Regions from separate parts of the Homo sapiens genome. Here region 1 is linked to region 2. The links are contacts of gene promoters, found by promoter capture Hi-C in blood cells and fetal thymus (Javierre and others, 2016). All regions are on one chromosome and are shown on one strand. Each heading gives the region's core, a stretch centred on a gene start or on the middle of the fragment in contact. The rest is flanking DNA. Distances are from core to core; before and after follow the strand shown. Region 1 overlaps NUP210L (nucleoporin 210 like). Region 2 holds the start of S100A16 (S100 calcium binding protein A16).

Region 1 (3,727 bases), core at 262-2,761, 410 kb before region 2:
GAGGAGTGTAGAATGATTGCTATCAAAATTGGCTGGGCTGGGTGACTCACGCCTGTAAGCCCAGCACTTTGGAAGGCTGAGGCAGGAGAATCACTTGAGGCCAAGAGTTTAAGACCAGCCTGAGCAACATAATGAGACCCCTATCTCTACAAAAAATGAAAAAAAAAAAAAAATAGCCGGGCTTGGTGGCACATGTCTGCAGTCCTAGCTGCTTGGGAGGCTGAGGTGGAGGATCACACGAACCTAGGAGTTCGAGGCTGCTTTGTGCTGCAATTGAACTGCTGCACTGCAGCCTGGAAAACAAAGCAACAATCTGTTTCTTTTTAAAAAATTAAGCTTTGCTACAAGAATTAAAAAATTGAGAAAAGACCTCAGAGATAAGTTAGTCTTAACACGAAAAAAAATTTTAGACATTAAACATCTACTATATACTATGTTCGTCATTGTATGTATATTATCTCTTTTAACTACCACAAAAGCCCTATGAGGTAGGCATTATTATCCCCATCTAACTGTTAACTGATAAGAAACCTGAGACCCAGAAAAGTTACATGAGGCTATGAAATGATAAAGCTATGATTCAAACGCGGGCTTCACTTACTGTATCACAGCTCTCTTACAGTGTGAAAACACAATATAGATTGTGTTCCTGATAAGTAATTGATTATTTAACCATAAATATTGAGCACTCTGCATGAAATGGATGAATTATAGTCCTTTCCTCATAAAGCTCCAGCTTCTCTTCACATTCCCACAGCTTTAAAAATTAAAAACCTGGCTGGGCACAGTGGCTCACGCCAATCCCAGCACTTTGGGAGGCCGAGCCGGGTGGATCACGAGGTCAGGAGTTCAAGACCAACCTGGCCAAGATGGTGAAACCCCCATCTCTACTAAAAATACAAAAAAATTAGCCGGGCATTGTGGCGGGCGCCTGTAATCTCAGCTACTCAGGAGGCTGAGGCAGAGAATTGCTTGAACCCAGGAGGCGGAGGTTGCAGTAAGTTGAGATTGCACCACTGCACTCCAGCCTGGGCGAGACAGCAAAATTCCGTCTCAAAAAAAAAAAAATTAAAAACCCATTTCAAGCCGGGCACAGTGGCTCACGCCTATAATTCCAACACTTTGGGAGGCCAAGGCGGGCAGATCACTTGAGGTCAGGAGTTTGAGACCAGCCTGGCCAACATGGTGAAACCCCATCTCTACTAAGAATAGAAAAATTAACCAGGCGTGGTGGCAGATGCCTGTAATCACAGCTACCTGGGAGGCTGAGGTAGGAGAATTGCTTGAATGCAGGAGGCAGAGGTTGCAGTGAGTCAAAATCATGCCGCTGCACTCCAGCCTGGGTGACAGAGTGAGATTCTGTCTCAAAAAAAAAAGAAAAGAATTTCCTATGCTGCTATGCTGTCATATTTCTTTTCACTCTGACTTAAGTCATCTCACATCAAAAGCTATTTCCTATGGAAAAGAAACATCACTCTTTATCATTGATTATAAGTCTCAGAATATGGTTGCAGCACTTCTCCAGTGCATCTTTCTCTGTACCAGTAGGTTTTGTCTCCCACAGGTAGCACCGGTGACATACCTGCGAGTGAGCAGCCAACCCAAGCTATACACAGCCCAAGGAAGGACCCTGTCAGCATTTCCCTTGGGCATGTCTCTTACCTTCACTGTTCAGTTTTATAATAGTATCGGAGAGAAATTCCACACACACAATACCCAGCTTTATCTGGCTCTGAACAGGTATGGAAGTCAAAGGAATGGTATTGACACTATGGTAGAAATCTTGCATATTAGGCTAGTATTATATAGCAGCTCCAGTAAATTCCTCTCACATTCTGAATTTGGAAGTTGATCTTTCTTTTGTTAAAAAAAATTTTTTTAAGTGAGGCCAGGTGGGTGGCTCACACCTGTAACCTCAGCACTTTGGGAGGCTGAGGAGGGAGGATCACTTGGGCCCAGGAGTTCGAGACCAGCCTGGACAACATGGTGAAACCCCATCTCTACAAAAATACAAAAATTAGCTGGGTGTGGTAGCGTGTGCCTGTAGTCCCAGCTACTAGGGAGGCTGAGGTGGGAGGATCACTTGAGCCCAGGAGGCAGAGGTTGCAGTGAGCAGAGATTGCGCCACTGCACCCCAGCCTGGGTGACCAATTAAGACTGTCTTAAAAAAAAAAAAAAAAAAAAAAGACCAGACTTAGGCAATGGTATTAGTTGTCACTTAAGAAAAAATGCAGGATATCTTAAATCTGTCAAGTTCTAATTCACTAAAAGATCCATAGGGAGCTAACTGGAGTATTATTATCAAAAGGCTTTACTGGAAAAAAAAAAAAGCCTTCCTGGGAACTATACGTATGAAGGTAATAGACTGATCCTTGGCCCATACTTACTTACTCTTTATTGTGGAATTCCTTCTGAACTTCTGAGCTGTTGAATATAAAATGTGGTAGGGTGTTCTCCAGAACTATTTTCTAACTATTGTCTCTTTTTAAAGATTTCTACCTTTAATGTCTACTTGCAGAGATGACTTGCTGCATATTGGACCAGGGAATAAGAACTATACTTACATGGCCCAGGCTGTGAACAGAGGGCTGACACTTGTGGGGCTTTGGGACCGGAGACATCCAGGCATGGCAGATTATATTCCTGTTGCTGTAGAGCATGCCATTGAGCCAGACACCAAGCTTACCTTTGTTGGAGATATCATCTGCTTCAGTACTCACCTTGTCAGCCAGCATGGTATGTATACATTCCCTTTCTCAAACTTACAATTGATAGTTGTGGGGATTAAAAAGCAGTTATTAAAAAAAAAAGCAGTTATTAATCCCTTGGACTGGTATAGTGGTTTATACCCATAATCTCAGCCCTTTGGGAGGCCAAGCTGGAGAGGTCACTTAAGGCCAGAAGTTCAAGAAAGCAATTAATCCCCTAGAATATTTTTTTCCAAATTATCTAAAATCTGAGGGACTCTCTGAGAAAGAAAATAATTTTGAGTATTTTATTATTTGTAATGTTACTGATAATTTTTAGCTTAATGCCTGTTTCACTCAATAGCCAGCCAATTAGAAGCCAGCCAGTAATATTGATCAAGAGTCTATTGGATACATAGCTCTATTTTATATTATGTAGATAGTGCAGGGTACTGTGTCTTCTCCTCCATTCCCAGCTTTTGAAGGAGGGTAATTACTATATTGAAGGACAGTAAAGGATAACAGGAAGGAAAGGGCAATAAGGCTTTAGTTCTAAGAACTAGTTATGTGTATGCTATTTTGTGAGGCACATTTGAAGGCCTAAGTCCTAACATATCATCATTGTAATAAGGTTTTTTCTTTTACCCGGATAAACTATACTTTGTTTTGTTTTTTTTTTTAGAGACAGAGTCTCACTCTGTCATTCAGGCTGGAGGGCAGTGGGCAGTGACATGATCTCTGCTCACTGCAACCTCTGACTCCTGGGTTCAAGCGAGTCTCCTGCCTTAGCCTCCCAAGTAGCTGGGACTACAGGCACACAACACCACGCCTGGCTAATTTTTATATTTTTTATACAAGGGGTTGGCCCCTGGCCAACTATACTCTTGAAAACAAAGCATTTCTGTCCTAAGTACTGAGTTAAAAATAAAATCATAAGCCAGGTGCGGTGGCCCATGCCTGTAATCCCAGCACTTTGGGAGGCTGAGGTGGCGGGATCACGAGGTCAAGAGATCGAGACCATCCTGGCCAACATGGTGAAA
Region 2 (4,057 bases), core at 695-3,194:
GGGTGGGAAGATTGGAAGGTGCTGCATCCCTGAGCCATGGTTTCTTCACTCCCCTCAGAGCAACTGTGGCCTGGAAGAGAAAATTGCCAACCTGGGCAGCTGCAATGACTCTAAACTGGAGTTCAGGAGTTTCTGGGAGCTGATTGGAGAAGCGGCCAAGAGTGTGAAGCTGGAGAGGCCTGTCCGGGGGCACTGAGAACTCCCTCTGGAATTCTTGGGGGGTGTTGGGGAGAGACTGTGGGCCTGGAGATAAAACTTGTCTCCTCTACCACCACCCTGTACCCTAGCCTGCACCTGTCCTCATCTCTGCAAAGTTCAGCTTCCTTCCCCAGGTCTCTGTGCACTCTGTCTTGGATGCTCTGGGGAGCTCATGGGTGGAGGAGTCTCCACCAGAGGGAGGCTCAGGGGACTGGTTGGGCCAGGGATGAATATTTGAGGGATAAAAATTGTGTAAGAGCCAAAGAATTGGTAGTAGGGGGAGAACAGAGAGGAGCTGGGCTATGGGAAATGATTTGAATAATGGAGCTGGGAATATGGCTGGATATCTGGTACTAAAAAAGGGTCTTTAAGAACCTACTTCCTAATCTCTTCCCCAATCCAAACCATAGCTGTCTGTCCAGTGCTCTCTTCCTGCCTCCAGCTCTGCCCCAGGCTCCTCCTAGACTCTGTCCCTGGGCTAGGGCAGGGGAGGAGGGAGAGCAGGGTTGGGGGAGAGGCTGAGGAGAGTGTGACATGTGGGGAGAGGACCAGCTGGGTGCTTGGGCATTGACAGAATGATGGTTGTTTTGTATCATTTGATTAATAAAAAAAAATGAAAAAAGTGAAACATGTTGTCTTGACTGGACACCCCCTCCCTGAGGGTCCACGGGTGAGAGGAGCTTGGGGGTGAAAGGCAAAGTCATTGGTAGGGTGGGGCACGTGGGGCTGGAGTGGTTGGCTGTGGAAGTGAATGGGGACTCACTTTTCCCTATGGGTTTGGGTTGAGGGTGGTACCAGGTCCAAAAGGGCAACATGGTCCTCTCTGAGGGACAGGCTCCTCTTTGCCAATGGGCGGGCCCTCTTATAGGAGAGGAGGGTATGTGTGCACACTTGGGGAAAAGGATATTAGTCCAGGTGTTCTGAGCCCTGGCTGGCACAACCAGGGAAATGGGGTGGGTGGGGGTGGGGGGCGGTTAGAAACAGGCTGACTGGCCTGAGTTTGAATCTCAGATCTGCCACTTATCATTGGAATTTTGGGCATGCTCTTAGTATCAGTTTCCTCATCTGTAAAATGGGGGATATGAATATTACTTCCACAGGATTGCCAGGAGGACAATGCCACACATCATGTAAAGCACTTACAGAGAGCCTGACACATGGTGAGTGCCCAGTGACCCAATATCATTCCCGCTGGAGTGGGCAAGTGGGCCCCTCTTTGGTTTCAGCTGCTGCCCTAGTGTAGGGAGGTCGAGCTGGCCAGTTTCCTTGGGTATCTTAGGGAAACGGTGGGGTGTGGGGAGTTTCCAGAGGAGTCTTCTGGTGTACATGAGGGATCTTAGGGCTGGGTCTCAGTAGAGCTGATGGGTCAGACTAGAGACAGAAGACCAGGGAGCCAGACAGGTCCCTGGCATCTGCCTTCTGATTTGAGCACAGAAGTCGGGCGTTACTCCTGAAACCCCAGTGGCAAGGAGGTTTCTGTGGCCAGTTAGGCTGGCCTGGAATGTTAACTGAACTTGTCTGTTGGGAGCCCCTGAAACTGGGATCCCAGTGACCCAGGTGAGAAAGGCAGGTGATAGTCCTTCCCTTCCTTTCTCTACCCTGTCAGGTTCTGCTCAGCCCCTGCGGGGCTGGGAGGGTGGGGTTGGGGGAGTGCCAGTTTTCACCACTCCCTCTGGGATGGGGGTAGAGGGGTGTGAAAAAAGGTGTGTATCCCTTTAACAAGGGCCCAACCCCAGGGCCAAGTCAAGAAGGAGCTCAGCCACTATCTCCCCACCGAGCCAGCTCAGCGGGCAGGGCTGGGAGGGAGTGGGACAGATTCTGGGAGTGCAGCGGGGAGGAGTCCCGGCTGGGCTGAGCGCAGGGAGCTGCTTGGCAGTGCCAGAGCCCAGGCCCCAGAGCCCTGCTGGAGAGGAGGCAGACTGAGGCAGCAGGTGAGCACCCTGGGCCCGGCCTGGGAGGTCTTCGGCTGCCGGAGGGCCCCACAGTATTGGGAGGCCAGGAGAAGGGGCAGTGAAGGGGGCCTGGGGAGAGGGGCCTGCCAGAGAGCAGGCAGGAAGATTTTGGTAATTATTAACTTTCTCCCACAGGCCAGTTTAGGAATGGGGAGTCCTGGGGGGTTGGGGGCTGGGTGAGGCCTTTAGAGGGATGGATGGGATGGTGAGACCCCCTCCCTGCCGCAGCAGCTGACGGAGCTCCTCTCCAGGGGCAGAGTATTTGGAAGCTTTGACCACAGCTACTCGATCCTCCCCAAAAGGAGAGGACAAATGCGTGTTGGTCTGGGTTGGGGGTGGTCAGAGCTTGGACACAGGCCTTGCTGGGCTCTGGGAGCTGTGTCCTAGGGGAGGTGATGGGGTCCAGAAGGAACCAGGCAGTTTCCAGGGAGCCTGAGATTCCGAGAAGAGGAGGCGGGGGCTGAGGTGGCGTCCCCTCTACCTCACGACCCAAGCAGACCCCACTGTGTTCCAGGAGCTGTTCCTTGAGAGGGATGATGAGATCTGGGAGGAACCCGAGTGAGGCTGTGGGGAGCCTGCAAGCTCCCTGGGAGAGGGAAAGATAGAGAGAGGGGGGCTGAACCTCGGCAGCTCCTCCACCTCAGGACCCAGGCAGGCCCCGGCTTGAGCTGCTTTTCTTGGCAGAGCCACCTGCACTATGGGAGCCTTCCCCTGCCCAGCCCAGTGGGGATGGTGGTGAGGGCAGGGGTGCTGGGGAGCTGGCTCTGCCTTTCCCCACATTCTAGTAAGTGTTGTTGAGGCTGGGGTAGCTGTGTGTGTGTTGGGGGAGGCGGGGGCAAGATCCACACTGAACTCCTCCAACTTCACTTGCCTGGAAAAATTTCAGAGGCTGGCTTCTTGCTCCAAGAACTGAAGTGAGTGGAAGGGTGATGGGTCACCCAAGCAGAGGGGATCAGGAATGGCCGAGGTCCTTGCTCGGTGTGTGTGTGTGTGTGTGTGTGTGTGTGTGTGTGAGAGAGAGACAAAGAGAGTTAGACGCAGAATCCTGTGAGGATGGTAAGGGGTGAGGCAGGGCCAAGCAGGCCCCACTATGCTCCGGGAGCTGTTCCTGGAGAGGGCCTTGTGGAATTGGAGAAAGAACACAGGAAGGAGCAGAGAATGGAACAGCTGAGGCTGGAGAAATTTCATTTGAAACAGCCTTGCTGATAGAGGTGGCATTGTCAGCCCAGTTCGGATGGCACCTTCCCTATATATTGAAGTTAGAGAGGACAAATGAGTAAATGAAAAAGGGAATGAATGAATGAATGTGCAAGAGAGTGAATGCATTATTGAATGAGCAAGTGAATGAATGAGAGTGAATGAATGAGCCAATAAATGAATGAGTAAGCAAACTCATGGTGCCTAAGTGAGCAAATGAATTCCAGGTAGATGGAAGGGACACAGAGAATCCATACTTAGGCTTGACAGTGGGCTAGGCTCTGGAGAGAACAGTGACCAGGAGGGACAGGAGTCTAGGGACACATCCCAACACTTGGAAAAAACTTAAGACTCCAGAGGTGTCTGTGGGGTGAGAAGAGAAGGTGGACTTAGGACGGTGTGGTGGATGTTTGGAGCTCCAGACGGAAGGAGCCTGGGGATGCTAGGGGTGGTTAGGAGGCATTTGGAGGGCGTGGAGCCCAGAACCTGGGGGTGGGAGGGTGGGGCTGGAGTGGCTGGGATCCAGGGGCATGGAGTCAGGGCAATTTGGGCTTTTGGAGAAGTCAGCAAGCTGGGCTGAGGTGGGTGGGGTGGGGGTGGGAGACTGCTTGTTGCTCAATGATGAATCAGCCAAGGGGAAGACAATGAGAACATTGGGGTAGGGCTGGAGGCCTGAGGTGAGAGGGCCCATTGGAGGACACGTGGTCCTC

Evidence for each region. The method cuts DNA at HindIII sites, captures the fragments that hold promoters and counts their contacts. A CHiCAGO score of 5 or more calls a contact.
Region 1: a fragment that was not itself captured here is called in contact with the fragment with the promoter of S100A16 in region 2 in 4 of 17 cell types (total B cells, fetal thymus, naive B cells and 1 more); the score reaches 6.1 in total B cells.

The regions. Positions count from the first base shown.
Region 1 is chr1:154,021,135-154,024,861 of GRCh38, reverse strand. NUP210L (nucleoporin 210 like) reads left to right here. Exons shown (of 40, transcript NM_207308.3): 31 at 1,565-1,740; 32 at 2,519-2,736. Among named protein-coding and RNA genes, the nearest start is that of RPS27, 32 kb to the right of the region's middle. The HindIII fragment of the contact is 2,345 bases long and covers 339-2,683 here.
Region 2 is chr1:153,611,024-153,615,080 of GRCh38, reverse strand. S100A16 (S100 calcium binding protein A16) reads left to right here and starts at 1,944. Exons shown (of 3, transcript NM_080388.3): 1 at 1,944-2,129. S100A14 (S100 calcium binding protein A14) reads left to right here. Exons shown (of 4, transcript NM_020672.3): 4 at 59-826. The coding sequence ends at 196. The HindIII fragment of the contact is 6,157 bases long and covers 1-2,421 here.